Regions from separate parts of the Homo sapiens genome. Here all the other regions are linked to region 1. The links are contacts of gene promoters, found by promoter capture Hi-C in blood cells and fetal thymus (Javierre and others, 2016). All regions are on one chromosome and are shown on one strand. The core of a region is centred on a gene start or on the middle of the fragment in contact, and the rest is flanking DNA. Distances in the headings are between cores, read along the strand shown.

Region 1 (2,581 bases), core at 50-2,549:
AATGAACACACTAGAAAAACTGGACACCATATACAAGACATACTCCCAAAACAGGATCATTAATACAGACACTATTTATAAAGGAGTTCTGTATTGTGTACACCATGGGTGAACAAAATTGGTTCCTGGTTCACACAAATAACAGACACCCACAGAAAGTTATCTGAATGGCTAGCTGCCTAGGCATGTTTTAAATAATGATGATCAAATGGGGTAGCCCAGAGAACAAAACACAAGTGGCAATTTTTGATATCATGTTCTTGTACAGATACAAAATTTTAATTGGGTTTATGTGCCATGAAAAGAAATGATATATGTAGAAGTACATTTTATATGTTAGTAATCATCACCACCATCTTCAAAATGACCAAATTAAGGCTATGGGGCAGGAAAGTCAATCTGACAGAGTTATTTTTGGGTAGGAAGTGAAGCCAAGATAAAAACATGTTTTCTGTAAAAGCCTTGATAATTAAAAAAAAAGTATATATGTGAATATCTTTATAAGTTTCTATTATTCTTCATTGCATTGTGGAACAATTGACTTTCTAGGAAAGCTATTTCTGTGGCTTCATAGGATTACCATTTGCTTTCACCAGAGGATTAGGTATTTTTAAATGGCATGTGTATTACTTCTCTGAGTTTATTAAGATGATAATAAAATCTTACAGAAAACTTCTAACAGGTGTTTTCTACAGTCCTTTGCTTCTGGGCTGTCTTCTCCTAAAATACCATAAACGGTTTTGTTTGTTTGTTTGTTTGTTTCTAAAGTCTAAGAATGACTTTTGTGGGACAGTGGAGGTGGGGGTGTCTGTGGGATGAGAGGCTTGGCAAATAATTCGTTTCCAAGGATACACTAATTTCCGCCCTTCAGCCAGGTTCATCCACAGTCAGTAGTGTAATTGAGTTTAGTTCTTCCTGGTCTTTCAGATAAGTAACCCTTTTGCCAGTTACAAACCCTACTTGCAATTCTATTTTCTATGGGCTCTTAATTATTGAAAGGGAGGATTAGTCATGAATCTCCTTTTTCACTCCTTTACTAATCAAGCTCAAGTTCTGCGAGCAAACAGCAACAGCAAAAGCAAATACTTTGGCGCCAACACTTAGCCTTGCCTCACTTAAGAGGCAGAATTATGTAGGCTTGTTTGCTTAACAACTCAGATAGGGGGCGGGGAGGGTGACCGGAGGGGACGAGGGAGGGGACGAGGGACGGGACGAGACGAGGGAGGGGACGAGGGAGGGGACAAGGGAGGGCCCGCCCCCTTGGAACGGGATTGGTTCCCTCTCTCCCTTTAGCCGTTCACTTTGCATCTCGGTTGGACAGGTTGAGAGAAACATGTCATTAAGGTATTGTCAATATGAGCCCTTCAGGTGTGGGCGTTCCCTAGGTTTGTGGTTTTAGACTTTCAAAGGGGCGGACTTATTATTGGCTGTGGGATCAAGTTCGTGAAACTGGTCTTGTACAGGTTGAAAAATGCCTTCCTAACAGGAGGCGCCAAGGAGCTTAAGTGTAACTCACACACAGTAAAGAAAATGACGAAAGTTCCTCCGGCGTTTGATTTCAGTTTCTTAAATGACGAAGAGGCCAGGAAGATCCTTCAGGTGCTGGAAAGGAATGAGGAGTTACAGAGGGCCGAGAAGGACAGGATCAGGTACAGAGCAAATTCATTTCTTTTGTCCTGGGCCTGGGTCCCGCAGGGGCCGGGGATCCGCGGGGAAGGCGCTGAGCTCGCGCGGGGCACCTGCCCGGGGGTGCTCCGAGCGGCTGCTGCGGAGGCTGCGGGTCGGGAAGAGAAAACTGCGCGGAGTTGCTCCCTGAAGGACTTTGGGATGCTTAGTTGGTACCCTCTCCACCCACCACATACCAGACGGGCTCGGCTGCGGGTCTGGGGTCGGGCAGGGTGGGGGGGTCCGTGCGCTGCGGGGGCCGCGCAGTGACGCTGTGCTGTGCCGGGTGTCTGCTGGGCCATCGCGGGGCGTGGGCCGTTTCAGGCAATGAAATGCGGCGGGGGCGCGATCTGGAGAGGAATCCTGGCTGCTGCTCACTCCGCGGCCCGCGCGCACCCACGTGCTCGCACGGGTCCGACAGAGCTTCCACCCTCGCCTAACGCAGTTTTCCCTCGGCACCAGAGGCGAATCTCCCCACCCAATGCGGGCAGTCAGCGAAGCACGGGAGAGCCGGCACCTCACGGGAGGCGAAAGGTCCCCACCCCAAGGGTAGGAGCTCGAGGAATTTGTCAAATAGAGGCTTATGTGGGCGAATGGGACTTGGACACACGGGGTTGGCTGGAATGGGTGGGTCTTCTTGTGCGTGGTGCTGTGGGGAGCGAGTTTCTGAGAAATTTCATCCTTGACCTTACTATACACTGTTGTAGGTGAGGGATTAGTTACTAAAGAATGAAATCCAGAGACACAGATAATTACCCAGGATGTACATTAACCAGTTTTTCTGCTGGGGAAGTGTGGGATAAGTGCTGGAATGAATTAAAGGGACTCTCTCGCCAATATTGGAATATATCCATCTAAGTCCTTCTCTAGATAACTGTGGAAGGGAATTCAGGACATCACTCTCAGACCACACTGT
Region 2 (2,581 bases), core at 47-2,546, 490 kb after region 1:
GGCAACATAGTGAGACCTCCTCTCCGCAAATAAAAAAAAAATTACCTAGGCAAATAAAAAAAAAATTACCTAGGTGGTGTGTGCCTGTGGTCCCAGCTACTCAGGAGGCTAAAGTGGGAGGATCACTGGAGCCCAGGAGTTCAAGGCTGCAATGATCTGCAATTGTGCCACTGCACTCCAGCCTAGGTGACAGAAACTCTATCTCAAAAAAAAAAAAAAAAAAAAAAAAAGAACTAAAACATTGAACTATATTCTCAGGCACATGTGCTATCATTCATTCAGTCCTACTATGTGCCCTTTTTACACTGAGGTTTAACAGGGCTGAATCCAACTTGATATTTTGAGGACCCTCTTTAAGAAAATACAAAACTTGTAGGGCTCCCCCTCCCAGAGCCTTGTACAAGGGGCCCAAAAGCTTAAGCTTATTTCTTGGTTTAAATGAAATCTGTTTCTTGGTTCAGATGAAATTTTATACTGAGAAAATACCTTCTCTAGCTTCATTTCCAAGTCAACTCCTCCCCCAACCCCAAACTCCCAAATGCCAGTTTAAGTCCAAGGTTGAGTTTAGAGTCGTTATGAAGTCAAATGTGTTCCTCCATCCAGTTGTCCAAAACATTTATTGACTACTACAGTAGGAACAAGAAATGATCCCTCAATGTAAAGGAGCTCTATAACATTTATTTATGAATCAATGAATGAATTAGTCTGGCCCTGTTGCCCAGGCTGGAGCGCAGTGGTGCGATCTCAGCTTGCTACAACCTCCACCTCCCAGGCTCAAGTGATTCTCATGCCTCAGCCTCCTGAGTAGCTGGGATTACAGGTATGTATTTTTAGTAGAGATGGGGTATTGCCATGTTGGCCAGGCTGTTCTTGAACTCCTGACCTCAAGTGATCTGCCCACCTCACCTTCTCAAAGTGCTGGGATTACAGGTGTGAGCCACTGCGCCCAGCCTGAAATTTCTTTTAAATTTAGTTCCTCTGGGTAATTAAGTCCCTGTATGCAATTCAAGTTTCTTATAGTCAAGAGTTTTTTCGATTATTAAATTGTTCACTTGATCAGTAACTAATTGCTATTATCTGTCCAGTTTCACAACCTTATTGCCAAACTATTTCTAGCTTAAAAATAAGTATTTCAGGCCAGACGCGATGGCTCACACCTGTAATCCCAGCACTTTGGGAGGCCGAGGCAGCTAGATCACGAGGTCAGGAGATTGAGACCATCCTGGCTAACATGGTGAAACCCTGTCTCCACTAAAACTGCAAAAAATTAGCCAGGTGTGGTGGCAGGCGCCTGTAGTCCCAGCTACTCGGGAGGCTGACGCAGGAGAATGGCATGAACCCAGGAGATGGAGCTTACAGCGAGCCGAGATCGCGCCACTGCACTCCAGCCTGGGTGACAAAGTGAGACTCTGTCTCAAAAAATAAAAATAAAAACAAAAATAAGTATTTCACAAATTTTCAAATATATCCAAAATGTGAAATGATTATGTTTTACATTTTTTACTTTTTTTTTTTTTTTTTTTTTTTTTTTGAGACAGTCTCATTCTGTCGCCCAGGCTGGAGTGCAGTGGCACAATCTTGGTTCACTGCAACCTCCGCCTCCCGGGTTCAAGCGATTCTCCTGCCTTAGCCTTCCGAGTAGCTGGGACTACAGGCGCGCGCTACTACACCCGGCTAATTTTTATATTTTTAGTAGAGACAGGGTTTCACCATGTTTGCCAGGCTGGTCTTGAACTCCTGTCCTCAGGTGATCCACCCACCTTGGCCTCCCAAAGTGCTGGGATTACAGGCGTGAGCCACTGAGCCCGGCCCATTTTTTACTTTTATCTGCTATAAAATTTGAATTTTGTTATGACATAGCCTATCTTAGTTGATGAATATATTAACCACTTTCAGGTTGGAATTTTTTTTTTTTTATTACCTCTTCCAGGCATATAGCCACATGCTATCATCAGTGGAAAAGCTACATTCCTGACTGCTCTCATTTTGAATTAGAATTTGAAGTCTAATATAAATAAGTGGGTTACTTTTCATATTTCTGATTCCTAAGGCTGGCTGAGATTAATTTACCTTCAAATTTAAAAATATACCTACTATAAAAATTTTAATTAAACTCTTTGTAACTATTTTATAGTAGAACATCAACATTTTCTGGATAGGTAAAAGCTTTTATATTACATTTTTATTTTGCAAGAAAATAAATTATACAACTTAAAAAATAAAATCCAAAAATTAAGCAGTTCATCAAAATATTTCAGCCTACTGCATACAGAAACTGCTACCACTTAAAATTGTACAGCATTATCATCTCAGTATGTAGTGGCACACATTCAAAATCGTATAGACCATATGAGGATAGATTACAACTTAGAAACTAAAATAAATTTGTTCAACACTCCAGACAACATATAGTGTAGATGACAGGAAAGCTCTCATGTAATGTTTATTTCACAAACATGACCTTGGAAGAATTCATAAGACAGCATCCCAGTCACTTACATGAGAACAGAAAAACCAGCTTGAGTTTAAGATAGCAAATCTTTCTGTAAAACTAGCAAATCTTTCACCCAGACTGAAGTTT
Region 3 (2,581 bases), core at 50-2,549, 450 kb after region 1:
TCAGGAAACATGTACACAGCTAACTGCAAGACAATGTAAGAATGCCTTTTTGTGTACATAAAACAGTTTTCTCAAACATCACAAACATGCATGATGGCACTGGATAAATGCTCGTCTACAACTCTTGAAACATAGGGACCAGTTAATATTTTTGTCTCCAGGGTCTAACTTTCCTTATTCAATATATAGCAGGTACTCACTACATATTTTTCAAATCAGATATTTATTCTTATCTAGAATCACCTGGAGATAAATATAAATGAATGTTAAAAACTACCAAACCACTTTAAATAGAAGAATGTTATTATGGTATATAAATTATATCAATAAATCTGTTTTTTTCAATGCCAATGAAGACCCTATCATAGACTGCTACATATGAAAAACTGAATTCTATAGTCATGTTATACATATCTTCCCTGGGATTTATATATTGAAGGTATAAACTACCAAAACAATTTTACATGAGCCTGATATACTGAAAATGTTAAATAACATCTAGATGTTTTCTAGAATTTTTCAAAATCCTTAGGCAATTCTAAGAACTAGATATGGTATACTGGCTCAATTTTTTCTTATGCTTCATTTCTTAACACTAACCATTTTCTTTCTGGAAAACTGTCTTCAGCTTTGGAACTTTGCTAAAATCAACACGTTTATATTCTTCATCTTCTTTCACCACTACATCTGGTTGACCTAAAATAAAAATATTTTAAGTAAAATCGCTCAAAACAAGTAGTCATTCAGCAAGCAACTGTTGTACAAGATGCCTAGTAGTCTGTGCCTCCCTTTGTATCCCTGCTTCACTTAAACCATCCCAAGTAAACACTCATCTAGAATCTGTTAACTATAACCTCTATTATGTTACCATCTTAAAAAGAGAAACTTACAAAGTAGCTTCACAATTTTTTTTTTTTTTTTTTTTTTTTTTGAGGCAGGGTTTCCCTCTCCTGCTTAGGCTGGCATGATCACAGTTTACCTCATCCTCTCCAGGCCCATGTGATCCTCCCACCTCAGCCTCCCAAGTAGCTGGGACTACAGGTGGGAGCCACCACAGCCAGCTAATTTTGTTTGTTTGAAATGGTCTTGCACAGTCTCCCAATAGAGTGCAATGCTACAAACCTAGCTCACTGCAGCCTCGGACTCCTGGGCTCAATTGATCCTCCTGCCTTGGATTCCCTAGTAGCTGGGACTACAGGCGTGTGCTGCTATACCCAGCTAATTTTTAATTTTTTTGTGTGGAGGCCAAGTCTCACTTCGTTGCCCAGGCTGGTCTCAAACTCCTGGGCTCAAGCAATCCTCCCACCTCGGCCTCCCAAAGTGTTGGGATTACAGGTGTGAGCCACTGCACCCAGCCACAAAATTTAAATCTTCTACACCTCCATGTCCCCTTTTCTTCCTCAACTCCCTTCTATGATCACAGACCCCACTCTCCTGACCCCAGAGGCAGCTGTCTGACCTACACTAGATAAGCTCTAGTATTCTGTCACCTAGAGCACAGTAATCATTCCTGGAATAGAATTGTAACCTAAAGCAAGTTAATGAGTCTTCATTGTGGATTTATTCTGCTGGAACTGGTGAGAAAGTCTCTCCTTTTTGAGAACCCTATATATGTGACCCTAGAGGTAGAGGCAGCAACTTTAGAAAGGCTGAGAGAATAAAGCACAAAAGCCTGCAGGTGTGAGAAGCCAAGAGAGCATGTCTTAGTAGTAGTGAACACCCAGTTCCAATCCCTGAAGTTCCCAGAGCTGAATGGTTGCTACTGTTCATCCTTCAGTTCTTGGAGGCACTCCCGGTAACCTTCTAGTAAATCCCTTTTCAATTTAAAATACCGTATTGACTGTCACAGGAAAAAGTTCTAATAAATTTCTCAAATTTAAAGTAATACTCAGGGATCTTATAAATGGATTGAAATCTGACATTAAGTTGGGTAGATTTATATTCTCTCTGAACTGGCAACTCTTCACTTTTTATTAACCATAAGCAGTTGAAATGAACCAAGATAATGTCCTAATTTAAAACTTAAGCATAAAACATTCAGCAACATGAAAAGTCTATTCATCCTTTTTGGAACATTATCTCTACCTTTTACTGTAACTGTGACAGGAATAACTTCATTTCCAAATTTCCCAGCTTCCCATGCTGCTTTACTTCTGGTATAAGAATTAATAGCATAAGCGTCCTGTTCATTTCGTGCAATATTCAGCTTCTTTGCTGTATTCTCAGCACAGCTGCCCTGATAAAAAGTTGAAATATTTTAAAGTTAACTTTGCATAATTTAGAAAATATCTATTAACTTTGCCTAACTTATAGTGTTTAATAGTTAACGTTTCTTAAAATATATTTCTTAGGCCGGAGGTGGTGGCTCATGCCTGTAATCCCAGCACTTTGGGGGGCCAAGGCAGGCAGATCATGAGGTCAGGAGATCAAGACCATCCTGGCCAACATGGTGAAACCCCGTCTCTACTAAAAATTAGCCGGGCATGGGGGCACGTGCCTGTAGTCCCAGCTACTCGGGAGCCTGAGGCAGGAGAATTGCTTGAGCCCAGGAGGCGGAGGCTGCAGTGAGCTAAGACTGTGC
Region 4 (2,581 bases), core at 52-2,551, 380 kb after region 1:
TCCTTATACTATTAAGTCACTTCCAATTCCCCCTTGCCCCGTCCTCTGCCAACCACAAATCTACTTTCTGTATCTATACATGTGCCTTGCCTGGACATTGCACATAAATGAAATAGAATATTTCGCTTTTTGTGTCTGACTTTCACATAGCATAATGTTTTCAGCCTTATTCCATGTTGTAGCAGGTATTAGTACTTCATTCCTTTTTATAGCTGAATATTTCATTATATGAATATGCCATATTTTGTTTGTCCATTCATTAATGGACACTGTTATGAAAAATGCAGGCCAGCTGTAATGGCTCACCCTGTAATCCCAACACTTTGGGAGGCCAAGGCAGGAGGATTGCTTGAAGCCAGGGGAGCGAGACCAGCCTGGGCAGCATACTGAGACACCCCATCTGTACCAATAAGTAAGTAATTAGCTGGGCATTTATTTGGTGGTACATGCCTCTAGTCCTAGCTACTGGGTTGGCTGAAGTGGGAGGATCACTTCAGCCCAGGAGTTCAAGGTTATAGTGAGCTATGATTGAGCCACTCTACTTCAGCCTGGGTGACAGAGCAAGACTCTGTCTCTGAAAAAAAATAAACTGACCATAAATGTCTGGATTCCATGCTTCAGAGTTGACTAGATAAATAAGAAAGGTCTGGATTTTTTATTTTGTTCCACTAATTTCTGTGTCTAACCTCATGCCCGTACATCGTCTGGATTACTGTAGCTTTACAGTAAGTTTTGAAATTGGTAAGTGTAAGTGCTTCAACTTTTTCTTCATTTTCAAGATTATTTTGGCTATTCCAGCCCCCTTGTATTACCTTAGGAGTTTTAGGATGTTTGTCAATTTCTGCACAAAAGGCAGTTGAGATTATGATAGGAATTGTGTTGAATGTATCGGTGAATTTTGGGAGTATTGAGTTTTTAACAATATTGAACCTTTCAGTCCATGAACACAGTATGTCTTTGCGTGGATTTAGGTCTTTAATTTCCTCCAGTGACGTTTTCCAGTTTTTAGTATGCAAGTCCTTTACTTTTGTTAAACTTATTCCTAAGTATTTTATTTCTTTTGATGCTATTGTAACTAGCATTGCATTCTTAATTTTTGGTAGTTCATTGAGATTTATTGACTTTTATATATTCACTGTGTATCCTGCAACCTTGTCGAAGTCATTTATTAGCTCTAATAGTTTTTGTTTTGTTTCGTTTTGTTTTTGGGACAGAGTTTCGCTCTTGTTGCCCAGGCTGGAGTGCAATGGCGCAATCTTGGCTCACCACAACCTCTGCCTCCCGGGTTCAAGCGATTCTCCTGCCTCAGCCTCTGGAATAGCTGGGATTACAGGCATGCATCACCTTGCCCAGCTAACTTTGTATTTTTAGTAGCACCAGGGTTTCTCCATGTTGGTCAGGCTGGTCTCGAACTCCCGACCTCAGGTGATTTGCTGGCCTTGGCCTCCCAAAGTGCTGGATTATAGGCATGAGCCACCATGCCCCGCCCAGGGAGGTTTCTTAACTCCTTTTTTTTTTTTTTTTTTTTTTTTTTTGAGACAGAGTCTTGCTCTGTTGCCCAGGCTGGAGTGCAATGGCACCATCTCGGCTCATTGCAACCTCCACCTCCCTGGTTCAAGTGATTCCCCTGCCTCAGCCTCCCTAGCAGCTGGGATTAAGGTGGACACCACCATGCCTGGCTCATTTTTTTGTATTTTTAGTAGAGACGGGGTTTCACCATGTTGGCCAGACTGGTCTCGAACTCCTGACCTCAGGCAATCTGCCTGCCTTGGCCTCCCAGAGTGCTGGGATTATAGGTATGAGCCGTGGTGCCTGGCCTCTAATAGTTTTTTTGTTGTTGTTGTTGTTGTTTTTTATGGCTTCCTTAGGATTTTCTATATAAGACATGTCATCTGCAAATAGGGGTAATCTTGATTTTTTCCTTTCCAATCTGGATGCTTTTTTTTTTTTTCTTTTGAGACGGAGTCTCTCTCTGTTGCCCAGGCTAGAGTGCAGTGGCCCTATCTCAGCTCACTGCAACCTCCACCTCCCGGATTCAAGCAATTCTCCTGCCTCTGCCTCCTGAGTAGTTGGCATTACAGGCATGCACCACCACACCTGGCTAATTTTTGTATTTTTAGTAGAGACGGGGTTTCACCATGTTGAGCAGGCTGGTCTGGAACTCCTGACCTCAAATGATCCGCCCAGCTCGGCCTCCCAAAGTGCTGGGATTACAGGTGTGAGCCACTGCACCCGGCCTGGATGCTTTTTATTTCAAGTTTTTTCCTAATTGCCCTGGCTAGAGGATACATGCAATGTTGAATAGAAATGACAAGAACAGACCTTCTTACCTTTTCCCTGATCTTATGGGGAAAGGTTTGAATTTTAAACCATTGAAGATGATGTTACTTGGCTTTTTTTTTTTTTAATAGATAACTCTATGAGGTTGAGGAAATTTCTTTTTATTTCTAGTGTTTTTATCATGAAAGGGTGTTGGATTTTGTTTTTTTTGGTTTCTTTGGTAGAGTTTTGTTTTGTTTTGTTTTGCTTTTGAAACAGGTTCTTACTCTGTCATCCAGGCTGGACTGCAGTGGCATGATTA
Region 5 (2,581 bases), core at 61-2,560, 260 kb after region 1:
CTAATTTATTCTTCTTCACTCCCCTATTTAGGGCTTTTAATTTAGCCATTATTTTAAAAATAAAACACGTTCATAGTGGAAAACTAGAAATATATAAAAAAGCACATGTCACCCATAGTCCCTGTTACAACATTTATAGAAGGAGAAAGTTTAAAAATGAGGTACAGGAATGAAATCACAAAAGACAAACCTATGGAAAATAGGCCCTTCAAAATAAGGATTTATTGTTATTTCTAAACTGGTTAAATGAATAATTAATATAAGAGTCAAAGATGATCAGCTCATAGAATGTGACTGAGGATTGTCTTCTCAGGCAAATAGCTAGAGGAAATGTAAGTGGGTACACTCCCATTGAGAGTAATTTGGCAATATGTACCAGATTACAGATGCATGTATCCTCTAACCCAGCAATCCAACTTTTGGAAATCCATGCTACAAATTTGCCTGCGCATGTATGAAATTTGTATGTTCAAGGTTATTCACTACAATACAGCGTTGTTTGTAGCAGCAAAAGACTGAAAACAACACAAATGCCCATCGATAAGGACTTGTATAAAAAACTACATACATACACACAATGCAGCTGTTAAAAAATGAGAAAGATTTCTGTGACATATTGTTGAGTAGAAAAAAAAGGAAAAAATACTTCAGTTGACTATAAGAAACACCTAACTATAATTAACATTAATAAATACTTTTTACAAAGAAAATAAATCTTTATTATTTGGTCCTTCACAGAAAACATTTGTAGACTCCTGGTCCAAATAATGGCATCTTCTTCTTCTTCTTCTTTTTTAAACGGGATCTTGCTGTGTTGCTCAGGCTGGACTGGGGCTCACTGCAGAGTTTGAGCTCACTGCAGCCTCAAACTCCTGGACTCAAGTGATCCTCCCACCTCAGCCTCCCATGTAGCTAAGGGACTACAAGCACATGCCATCATCTCTGGCTTTTTTTTTTTTTTTAACTTTTTGTCAAGATGGGGTCTCACTATGTTGCTGAGGCTGGTCTCGAACTCCTGGCCTCAAGCAATCCTCCCACCTTGGCCTCCCAAAGCATTATGAATATGGGCATGAGCCACTTCACCCAACCAAATGGCATCTTTTATATGTTTTTGGTGAACTAACAGAAGTACAAATAGTTACCTTATAAGTACAGATAGTTAATTTCCTCTTCCTAGTTTCCGTGTTTCTCTGCAGTAATGTATTACACATCTGGAAGACCTGTTGCATGACAGCATCTTGTCTCAGGTCATCACGGCCCTTCAGAATAATTAAGCATGAATAAACAAGTACAGTTTATTTTATTATAAAAACACAGAGTCATCTGAGAATAGCAAAGGGCACTCAAACCAATCTGAGCATCTGTGCACCTCTTGACAGTCTCCCAAATAATTAAATACCTACTGCCATTCTTTCATTTAGAATAAGCTACAACATTTACACTGATTTAGAAAGTTTCCCCTCGCTACTTCTGTAATTAGATTAACTGGAAGTCCCCCCTAGGAAGGCATACTGCAAACACCTGAGTAAAACAGCACTGTGTCTTTCCACCACTCCCCAGTAGGACCCAAAGAGCTCGTCAGCAAATGGTAAGGGAAGAATGCTCTCCCTTTTTGGTACATTAAATAGCACTTGGCACAGTACGAGACCCGGTATACTGATGCAAAGGACGTCAACTTGCACTATTCAAGGAAATAAGAGACAGACACCAAAGTATTTTTTTTCATAAGAAGCAACCTCACTGTACATGTCTGTACATGTTAATGGTATTCTTTTACTTGAATCAACCATATAATAATGATTGTCTTTCAGAGACACAAAAAAAATGGAGAAAAGCCTGGTTCTAGAAAATAATGCATTTCTACTCTACAAATCTTCCTCATTTGTAAGTATTCAAAATAAAGACAAAATCCCAAATAAAGCAGAAAGAAAATATGAACTAAAAATTTTCATCACTAAAACTCTAAGGGCTAAGCCAGAGAAGGGAAGGCTCACCTTAACAAGCTGTCTCCTCTCCTTGCCATCGGAACCTACACAATCTATTATTTTTGGTAAATTTACACCTCCTGCTAAGCGAAATTCTGCTTTAAATGACTGTATAGTCACCAGATTTCCATATTCTCCTGTGTGGTCCACCTAATAAAAGTATAAACATGATTGATAATAGGTCAGATACACTATTTGCACTTAAAGAAAAATACATTATAAATGGCAATTTTAATATTAAACAGAGAAACAAATGACGATGTGATAGTGGTTAAGAACTACAACTTTAGGCCGGGTGTGGTGGCTCACGCTCGTAACTTTAACTACTGTTTCATCAAAGATTCACTAATATATGTAAAGTCATCTGAGAAATAACTCCTCACGAAAACATAAAGTAAATTTTGGAAAACAGTAGAAGGAGTTTTCTGGGTTATAACTGCTAAATCTGGCATTTTAAGGAAACATTCAGCGAAATCACCTAGCTGATATAGCTAGAAAAACAGCAGTTAATCCACATGATACAGCTACATTTCAAATCAAGTAACTAGATACTAAGCACTAAACTGCAAAATGAAAAGAAAGACAATGTATTTAAG

The links. Contacts are between HindIII fragments. The CHiCAGO score rates a contact against its expected background, and 5 or more counts as called.
Region 2: a contact is called between a fragment that was not itself captured here and the fragment with the promoter of EXPH5 in region 1, in 1 of 17 cell types (naive CD4 T cells). The highest score is 7.3, in naive CD4 T cells.
Region 3: a contact is called between a fragment that was not itself captured here and the fragment with the promoter of EXPH5 in region 1, in 4 of 17 cell types (naive CD8 T cells, total CD4 T cells, non-activated CD4 T cells and 1 more). The highest score is 6.2, in naive CD8 T cells.
Region 4: a fragment that was not itself captured here is called in contact with the fragment with the promoter of EXPH5 in region 1 in 1 of 17 cell types (naive CD4 T cells); the score reaches 6.0 in naive CD4 T cells.
Region 5: a fragment that was not itself captured here is called in contact with the fragment with the promoter of EXPH5 in region 1 in 1 of 17 cell types (naive CD4 T cells); the score reaches 6.3 in naive CD4 T cells.

The regions. Positions count from the first base shown.
Region 1 is chr11:108,592,486-108,595,066 of GRCh38, reverse strand. EXPH5 (exophilin 5) reads left to right here and starts at 1,299. Exons shown (of 6, transcript NM_015065.3): 1 at 1,299-1,649. The coding sequence starts at 1,531. RefSeq lists silencers at 1,113-1,412, 1,433-1,482, 1,763-1,822. The HindIII fragment of the contact is 3,661 bases long and covers 1-2,581 here.
Region 2 is chr11:108,107,348-108,109,928 of GRCh38, reverse strand. CUL5 (cullin 5) reads right to left here. Exons shown (of 19, transcript NM_003478.6): 19 at 2,168-2,581. Among named protein-coding and RNA genes, the nearest start is that of ACAT1, 13 kb to the left of the region's middle. The HindIII fragment of the contact is 1,745 bases long and covers 424-2,168 here.
Region 3 is chr11:108,139,720-108,142,300 of GRCh38, reverse strand. ACAT1 (acetyl-CoA acetyltransferase 1) reads right to left here. Exons shown (of 12, transcript NM_000019.4): 7 at 2,086-2,236; 8 at 601-696. Among named protein-coding and RNA genes, the nearest start is that of ACAT1, 19 kb to the right of the region's middle. The HindIII fragment of the contact is 4,039 bases long and covers 1-2,581 here.
Region 4 is chr11:108,211,900-108,214,480 of GRCh38, reverse strand. The region is part of intron 1 of NPAT (nuclear protein, coactivator of histone transcription); the gene reads left to right. Among named protein-coding and RNA genes, the nearest start is that of NPAT, 9.4 kb to the left of the region's middle. The HindIII fragment of the contact is 5,376 bases long and covers 1-2,581 here.
Region 5 is chr11:108,334,523-108,337,103 of GRCh38, reverse strand. ATM (ATM serine/threonine kinase) reads right to left here. Exons shown (of 63, transcript NM_000051.4): 55 at 1,995-2,135; 56 at 1,143-1,259. It also overlaps a transcript of C11orf65 not described here. Among named protein-coding and RNA genes, the nearest start is that of ATM, 110 kb to the right of the region's middle. The HindIII fragment of the contact is 3,297 bases long and covers 1-2,581 here.